Linked DNA regions of Homo sapiens: region 2 is linked to region 1. Evidence: promoter capture Hi-C in human tissues and cell types (Jung and others, 2019). All regions are on one chromosome and are shown on one strand. Each heading gives the region's core, a stretch centred on a gene start or on the middle of the fragment in contact. The rest is flanking DNA. Distances are from core to core; before and after follow the strand shown.

Region 1 (4,120 bases), core at 797-3,296:
GCGATCCTCCCGCCTTGGCTTACCCAAAGTATTGGGATTACAGGCATAAGCCACCGCGGCGCATGGCCCGTTTTTATCTCTATTTATGTATGGGGGAAACGTGGAGGCTGGTATTTGTGGGGCAACATCTCACAAAAATAGACTCTTAAAGTCAAGAGCATAAAAAAGAATATACGGAAGACAAGTGTCTCATATGACACAAAGCATCTTTCTTGACAGGGAGTCGAAAGCAGGTCGTAGCGAGACAAAGGCGGAAGCCTAACCACTAAATCTCCCAGTAAAGTGGGAGTGAATCAGATAGGTTTTGACGCTCACGAACGCCTGGGGTCGTCCTGCGGTCTCACCCCAGTTTCGATAAACCACATTGTTCCCTCCAGCACAGCAAGTCTCACAGCAAGACGGGGGCAGGCCGTCTGGTAAACATAAAATGCCTAATATGTGCTGCCCGTGGGCGAGTGGCCTACAGCAAAGGGTCATGCATGCACGATAGCCCGCGGTGCTGGCCTGCAGGAATTGGTCCACAGGTACCCGCCTCTCATTCTTTCTTTGAGAGTTAGCGAGGGTGCAAACGTTGTGAGAATTCTGCTCGGGGCCTTCCACACACGGATCGGAGAACACCAGGTTAGTCCAAGTTCTAACACCCACTGTTGGTGAATCTGCTACCCACTAGGTCTTGGTACAGAGAATACCATTTGTGCACTTAGGTAACACAACTTGCCTTAACCTTTCCAAAAAGCGAAATTACGCCCAACGTGGGGCTCGAACCCACGACCCTGAGATTAAGAGTCTCATGCTCTACCGACTGAGCTAGCCGGGCGGCCATGTCTGTATTCTAACTTTGTCTCTGAAGATGGAGGTTACCCTCAGAGGTGTAAGCACGTTTCCACTGTGCAAATACTAAGAAGCGCCTGCGCCTGGCTCTGTTCTAGGCACTAGAGCCGAGGATCTGAAATCTACGGATTCCTGTACATGTGATGGCTGCATAGGCTTCAGAAGGGAAGAGCAAGAGATTAGGTGAGGGGCGAGACCTGAATTTACTTGAGTAGTGCTCTCCTTCAGTTTTGCCCCAGTCCGTGTTCCTCCGAAGCGCAGGGACACACATGTCCTTCCTGCCACGTAAGGCCGGCCTCGGGAGAGAATCTCCCGAACAGACCAAAACGTGTTTCCGCCCGGTTTCGAACCGGGGACCTTTCGCGTGTGAGGCGAACGTGATAACCACTACACTACGGAAACCACCTTGGCTACTTTCCTGCCGGCATCGTCCTGAAGACACACACGGCTGAGACGGCCGGGATAGCTCTAGGCAAGCGCCCTTGTAGGACAGGCCCGGGGACCCCTGCCGCGGCCGGCTGAGCGGTGTCCAGGTTCTGGAGCCGGACTTGTCCACCGCAGCCGAGTCCGCAGGTCCTGTAATGGCCTAGCATAGTTCACCCACGAGGGTTCGTGGTTTTTGGCGCGTTTGATCTGACATACTCAGAGGCCTGACCACCCCCCTAGGAAGCGCGACGTCCATCTGGAGTTTTCCCGCGAGCCGCCTTGAGAGCAGGGTAAGTTCTGCAGGCCCAGCCCTGGCGTCACGCTGTGTCTGGCACTCACTGGAGATTCTGTACATAAATCATGGCCCCGTCATTTTTCTCGCATCAAACAACATTTATTTATTTATGTATCGACATCAAATCTCTATAAAAATAAAATTTAAAGAGCTATTTAAGCATCAAGTATTATTTCTACCGCACAAAGCATCTATTTTTGCAGAGATGCTGTGAGAATGTAGATGTAATGATTCGTCACCACTTCTTCACTGCTGGGCAGTTAGGGAAGTTCATCTAAACCATGAGACAGTGTCCGGTTGGCAGTTTCTACCTCGGATGCGAAACGCCGACTACAGTTGGGGAAGGGTGGGGCGTCTGCTGCCCTAACCCGCGAAGCGCTTTCTCAGGCCCCGCCCCCGGTCCGACCCGGACGACCCTCTGAGTCCTCCACAACGAAGTCGTCTGCCTAGAAGGGCCGGAAGTACTTCAGGGCGCGCCGCGGACCCACCCCCTCGCTTCCGGCATCGGCTGTGGGGAGTACCGGCTGCAGTCGGCTGTGCCGGGAGGGTAGGATGGCGTCTGGCCGATGCGGTGATAGCACCGAAAGCAGACGGCCGCCAGGCGCTCCCCCTACCCCCCGAAGTTTCTCCCCAGCGGCGGGGGATGGGGGTAGGCGGTTCCTCTGTTCTTTCTGCGTTCCCCGCGGCCTCTTACCACAGAGACGCGGGCCTCCACCGTCCTAGCCCTCCCGCCCTGTTCTCTAGTGCGGACTAGAGCGTCTCCTCGCCATTTCCTGTCGCCCTGGGGCCCCGCGGGGAAAAAGGGGGAGTAGCAGGACAGCGGAGGGAAGTCGCGAGCTTAGGTGGTGTGTAGACGCCGGAAGTGTTGGGAAGGAGGCCGGAAGCTAGGGGCGGGGCCAGGAAGTGAGGAGGGGCGGGGGTTTATGAGGAGTCCAAGGGAGCATTGGGGCAGACTTGTACTCAGAGCCACCTGAGGGACTTGGCGGTGGCGCCCAGCACTGTCCCCTCCCCTCGTAGAGACACGGTTGTCGTTTGGGAGTAGGGAACACTGTGTTGGGGTGGGTTGTCGGCAGGACATCTCTCTGGCTGCTCTTGGGGCGAGGTGTGGAGGGGCAGGGCTGGGGGTGGAGCCGGGTCGCCAGGGCGTCGGTAGGGAAGACCCCCGCCCCTCGCCCCCCCACCGAACCTCTACACTGGCTGGCTGGACACTAAGATGGCTGCCGTTGCCATGACACCCAACCCTGTGCAGACCCTTCAGGAGGAGGCGGTGTGCGCCATCTGCCTCGATTACTTCACGGACCCCGTGTCCATCGGCTGCGGGCACAACTTCTGCCGAGTTTGTGTAACCCAGTTGTGGGGTGGGGAGGATGAGGAGGACAGAGATGAGTTAGATCGGGAGGAGGAGGAGGAGGACGGAGAGGAGGAGGAAGTGGAGGCTGTGGGGGCTGGCGCGGGGTGGGACACCCCCATGCGGGATGAAGACTACGAGGGTGACATGGAGGAGGAGGTCGAGGAGGAAGAAGAGGGTGTGTTCTGGACCAGTGGCATGAGCAGGTCCAGCTGGGACAACATGGACTATGTGTGGGAGGAGGAGGACGAGGAGGAAGACCTGGACTACTACTTGGGGGACATGGAGGAGGAGGACCTGAGGGGGGAGGATGAGGAGGACGAGGAGGAAGTGCTGGAGGAGGTTGAGGAAGAGGATCTAGACCCCGTCACCCCACTGCCCCCGCCTCCAGCCCCTCGGAGGTGCTTCACATGCCCTCAGTGCCGAAAGAGCTTTCCTCGGCGGAGCTTCCGCCCCAACCTGCAGCTGGCCAATATGGTCCAGGTGATTCGGCAGATGCACCCAACCCCTGGTCGAGGGAGCCGCGTGACCGATCAGGGCATCTGTCCCAAACACCAAGAAGCCCTGAAGCTCTTCTGCGAGGTAGACGAAGAGGCCATCTGTGTGGTGTGCCGAGAATCCAGGAGCCACAAACAGCACAGCGTGGTGCCATTGGAGGAGGTGGTGCAGGAGTACAAGGTGAGAGAAGTACAGAGAGAAGATGGGAGTTTAGTGGGGGGATGGAGAGGAAGTAAGGGGACCTGGGAAAAGGAAACATCTCTTCACCCACCAAAGAACCTCATGGTATTGGTGAGCCAAGTTTGCTTATCTAAGCACTTACTGCCACCAAGGTGGATTAGAATGAGAAGGATTCTGTACACAGAGCAGATGCAGTGAAGACGACCAGGGAAGGATGGCTTCCTCAAAGCAAATAGAGCAAAGCCGGTGATGCCAGATCAGGTCTCTAGGGCTTTACCAGAAGTCTCGTTTTCTTTCGGGTGAGTCTTAAGTCTGTCCTTGACGGAGACACCTAGAGATGGAAAGAACTGGGGGCTTCAAAGGACAAGAAAAGGCTCAGAAGCAGGAACACAGAGATAACTGCTAGTGTCAGTGTCAGACCCAAATGCTCTGCACTTGCCTCCCAGTGGGTTCCCCACCTACCACGATATGGCTTGGTTCTGTCTTCAAGGACTTTGGTTGGCTCTGTGTCATTCTTATGCACTGACTAGAAAGCAGGAGCT
Region 2 (4,274 bases), core at 234-2,733, 44 kb before region 1:
TGGGAGGCGAAGGTGGGCGGATCACCTGAGGTCAGGAGTTCAAGACCAGCCTGGCCAACATAGTGAAACCCCGTCTCTACTAAAAACACAACAAATTAGCTGGGCGTGGTGGCAGGAAGTCAGGGACCCTGAATGGAGGGAACAGCTGGAGCTGCAGCAGAGGAACATAAATTGTGAAGATTTCATGGACATTTATCAGTTCCCAAAATTAATACTTTTATAATTTCTTACGCCGGTCTTTACTGCAATCTCTGAACATAAATTGTGAAGATTTCATGGACATTTATCAGTTCCAAAATAATACTTTTATAATTTCTTATGCCTGTCTTTATTTATTTATTTATTTATTTATTTATTTATTTTTTTTTCTTTTGAGACGGAGTCTTGCTCTGTCTCCCAGGCTGGAGTGCAGTGGTGCGATCTCAGCTCACTGCAAGCTCCGCCTCCCGGGTTCACGCCATTCTCCTGCCTCAGCCTCCCGAGTAGCTGGGACTACAGGCGCCCGCCACCACGCCCGGCTAATTTTTTGTATTTTTAGTAGAGACGGGGTTTCACCATGTTGGCCGGGATGGTCTCGATCTCCTGACCTCGTGATCCGCCCGCCTCGGCCTCCCAAAGTGCTGGAATTACAGGCGTGAGCCGCCGTGCCCGGCCGAAAGAAACCTTTCTTTTACACCAGCCTTCCAGGGCTAGGAAAGTCTTCTGAAAATCCCGGTACAAAGAAATCTGCACAAAGATAAGCCTCCATGTATTATTAACTGTAATAACTTTGGTCCTGGTGCAGGAAGAACCAAGAAGATCAATGGAGTGGAACTGAATCAATAAAGAGACTCGAATGTGTTTGGGAATTGAGCACATGGTAATGGCGGCGTTTCAGTGGAGAGAACAGAGTTACCTGTGTAATAGAAAACCAAGTCAAAAGGAAGAAAAATTAATGGTGGAGATAATTTTGTTTTTACCCAAAAATAAAAAATAAAAGCCGGGCACGGTGTCTCATGCCTGTAATCCCAGCACTTTGGGAGGCTGAGGTGGGCGGATCACCTGAGGTCAGGAGTTCAAGACCATCCCGGCCAACATGGTGAAACCCCATCTCTACTAAAAATACAAAAAATTAGCCGGGCATGGTGGCGGGCGCCTGTAGTCCCAGCTACTTGGGAGGCTGAGGCAGGAGAATTGCAGTGAGCTGAGATCGTGCCACTGCACTCCAGCCTGGACGACAGAGCAAGACCCTGTCTCAAAAAAATAAAATAAAATAAAAATAAAAAATAAAAAAATAAGGAAAGTGGGACTGCATGGGACTGGAGGGAGAGAGGTGGGTTAGAGCAAGTTTGGTTTTTTCCCTTTCCCTTGGTCAGCAAACTACCCTCAGGCCAAATCCAGCCTGCAACCTATTTCTCTCCAGCCCAGCGAGCTAAGAACATTTTTTACTGGTTAAAAAAATAAAAAGAATAATATTTCATGACATGTAAAAATTAGATGAAATTCAAATGTTGGTGTCTGTGAGTCAAGTCCCATTGGCACACATGTCCCATTGGCACACGGCGCCTCCCTCTCATTATGTGTCACCTTTACTGGCTTTGGCACCAAAAGGGCAGACGTGGGTACTTCCGACAAAACTGAAAAGATTCTGTACGTGGCCCTTGCAGAGAAAGCTTGCAGACCCCTGCTTTAGAGAGAGGAGGTATGAGAGTTTAGGCTTTGGTGTGGGTGGCTGGGGAGATCCCCTGGTTCAGGAAATGGTGATTCCAAGGGAAGTTGCTGTCTGGGTGCTGGTGCTGTCCTCCTCCTCTGTCCACCCCATATCTAATGCATTCTGAGCGCTCGCTGGGCAGTCAGTGCAGGGCGGGACAACAGTCACGTGTTGCTTCCCAAGACATACAGTCACGGGCCCCTTAACAACAAGGATGCATTCTGGGAAATGGTGATTAGGTGGCTCTTGGAAGGTGCACCTCATTTACCCCTAGGCTGGGTGGCATAGCCCATCGCTCCCACGAGTGACGTCTGTGCTACGACAGTACCACGGCTATGACATCCCTAGGCCATAGGAATTCTTCAGCTCCATCATAGTCATGGGACCACTGTCATGCACGTGTCCCTCCTTGCCTGGAAGGTTGCTGTGCAGCGCATGACGGCACTTCCATGTCAGCGGGTGCCTCGCTGGCCCATCTCCTGCCCCTGCTCACTCTGTCTGCCACCTTCCAGCAGCTCCCTGCCCTAAAGCCATCCTGATGCTGCTTTTCCGCCATTTCTTCCTCTGTGCATGTTACCCCAAACTCCACAGGGACTGCTGCTTGCTTGACATGCATTCTGGAACCTTCTGGGATCCTGTCCCAGTGCTCCCAAGGAGAAGCGGCAAGCAAGGGCCAACTCAGCCCAGGGCTGCCTCTGTCCAGGCCCTCTGTCCAGGTCGACAGGCATCTTCCCCTCCCCAGGGGGAGTGCAGGCTCCAGATGAGTTTCTGTCTCCCCAGCTGAGAACCTTTGTCTTGGTTCGGGTTGCTGTAACACAATACCATATGCCAGGCTGCTCAAACAATGACATTGATTTCTCACAGTTTCGCAGGCTGGAAGTCTAGATCAGGGTGCAGCACACTGCAGTTCTTGGTAAGGATCCTCTTCCTGATTTCTGCCCAGCTGCCTTCTCACTGTATCCCCACGAGAGAGGGAGAGGAACCAGCTCTCAGTCTCAGTTCTGTCTCCCTGTGAATCTGAGAGTGTGCTGAGGCCAGGAACCTTTGTCCCCTTAGCACCTAGACAGGATGTGGGACAGGAGTTAGGCACATAAATAAATGAATGAATGAATGGAAAGAAAATATATGATTGGTAATAATCCTTCATTGATTCAACAAGCCAACCCTGCACAGTCCTCACTCTCAGCTGGGGACATCCGTTGCAAAAGTTCAATCACCTCTGGCCCTGGCCAGTCCCAGGTGGCACCTCAGCTGTCACCAACCTGTCCCCTGACAGTGCCCTGGATGAGGCCACCAGCACCTCCCTCCTGACTCACAAGCATGGGGCTCTTCTAGCAGCCCTACTTGACTACTCTTGGATCTGTGGGGCTTTTGGTTCTCCGAAAGTCACTCACTCATTTATCAAAGGGGGACTTCATGTTCCACCTTTGACCCACAACTCTTTTGTACTATTTGCAAGACTCTGAGGCTTTTTTTTTTTTTTTTTTGAGACAGGGTTTCACTCTTTTTGCCCAGGCTGGAGTGCAGTGGCATCATCTCAGCTCACTGCAACCTCTGTCTCCCAGGTTCAAGTGATTCTCCTGCCTCAGCCTCCTGAGTAGCTGGGATTACAGGCACCCATCACCATGCCTGGCTAATTTTTTGTATTTTTAGTAGAGACGGGGTTTCACCATGTTGGTCAGGCTGGTCTTGAACTCCTAACCTCCAGTGATCCACCTGCCTCAGCCTCCCAAAGTGCTGAGATTACAGGTGTGAGCCACCACGCCCAGCCGAGTCTGAGCCCTTTTAAAGATGGGTGGCCATGGACTACCAGTCTGGTGAAAGTTATGGACTCCTTCTCAGAATAATGCTTTCTTTCTGTTTGTTTTTGGTTTTGGTTTTTTGAGACAGGGTCTTGCTCTGTTGCTAAGGCTGGAGAGCAGTGGGAAGAACCTAGCTCACTGCAGCCATGACCTCCTGGGCTGAAGGGATCCTCCCACCTCAGCCTCTCAAGTACTTGGGGCTACAGGTGCATGCCACCATTTCTGGCTAATATTTTGCATTTTTTGTAGAGATGGGGTCTCCCTATGTTGCCCTTGCTGGTCTCAAACTCCTGGCCTCAAGCGATTCAAATACCTTGGCCTCCCAAATAGCTGGAATTACAGCTGTGAGTCACACTGCCAGGACAATTACCATAATTTTTAAGTACTAATGAGCATAAGTGATATTTCAAAGTGCCTACAAGAACTATGATTTGACATGTGATATGAAAGGACCTGTGATTTCTTTGTGTTTTGCTGGTGTATGAGACAGAGTCTGCCTCTGCTGCCCAGGCTGGAGTGCAGTGGCACAACCTTGGCTCGCTGCAGCCTCCACCTCTGGGGCTCCTGCGATCCTCCCGCCTCAGCCGCATCTGTGATTTCCATTAGCAATAAAGGTCGTGTTAATTCTACTGTGGATTGCAGCCTCCTTTCTGAATGGAAAACCCTCTTTCAGTTCGTGATTAGGAAAAACATGAGTTCTGCTATTGTTCCCACCCAGATTCACAGATCCCCTGTTATCCCCGCCTCCTAGGAAAGGGAATCTTTCGGCCTTCTCGGGGCCA

Evidence for each region. The method cuts DNA at HindIII sites, captures the fragments that hold promoters and counts their contacts. A contact is called where the count stands out against the background at its distance.
Region 2: a contact is called between a fragment that was not itself captured here and the fragment with the promoter of TRIM41 in region 1, in 1 of the 25 tissues and cell types used here (lymphoblastoid cells).

What each region holds. Positions count from the first base shown.
Region 1 is chr5:181,221,235-181,225,354 of GRCh38, forward strand. TRIM41 (tripartite motif containing 41) reads left to right here and starts at 2,047. Exons shown (of 6, transcript NM_033549.5): 1 at 2,047-3,578. The coding sequence starts at 2,766. It overlaps TRK-CTT2-3 (tRNA-Lys (anticodon CTT) 2-3), which reads right to left and starts at 817; the gene lies at 745-817. It overlaps TRV-CAC1-5 (tRNA-Val (anticodon CAC) 1-5), which reads right to left and starts at 1,233; the gene lies at 1,161-1,233. MIR4638 (microRNA 4638) reads right to left here and starts at 1,399; the gene lies at 1,332-1,399. RefSeq lists silencers at 626-835, 1,086-1,315, 2,586-2,795 and enhancers at 2,046-2,275, 2,943-3,940. The HindIII fragment of the contact is 24,392 bases long and covers 1-4,120 here.
Region 2 is chr5:181,177,813-181,182,086 of GRCh38, forward strand. No RefSeq gene overlaps it. Among named protein-coding and RNA genes, the nearest start is that of TRL-AAG1-3, 5.8 kb to the left of the region's middle. The HindIII fragment of the contact is 3,593 bases long and covers 1-3,280 here.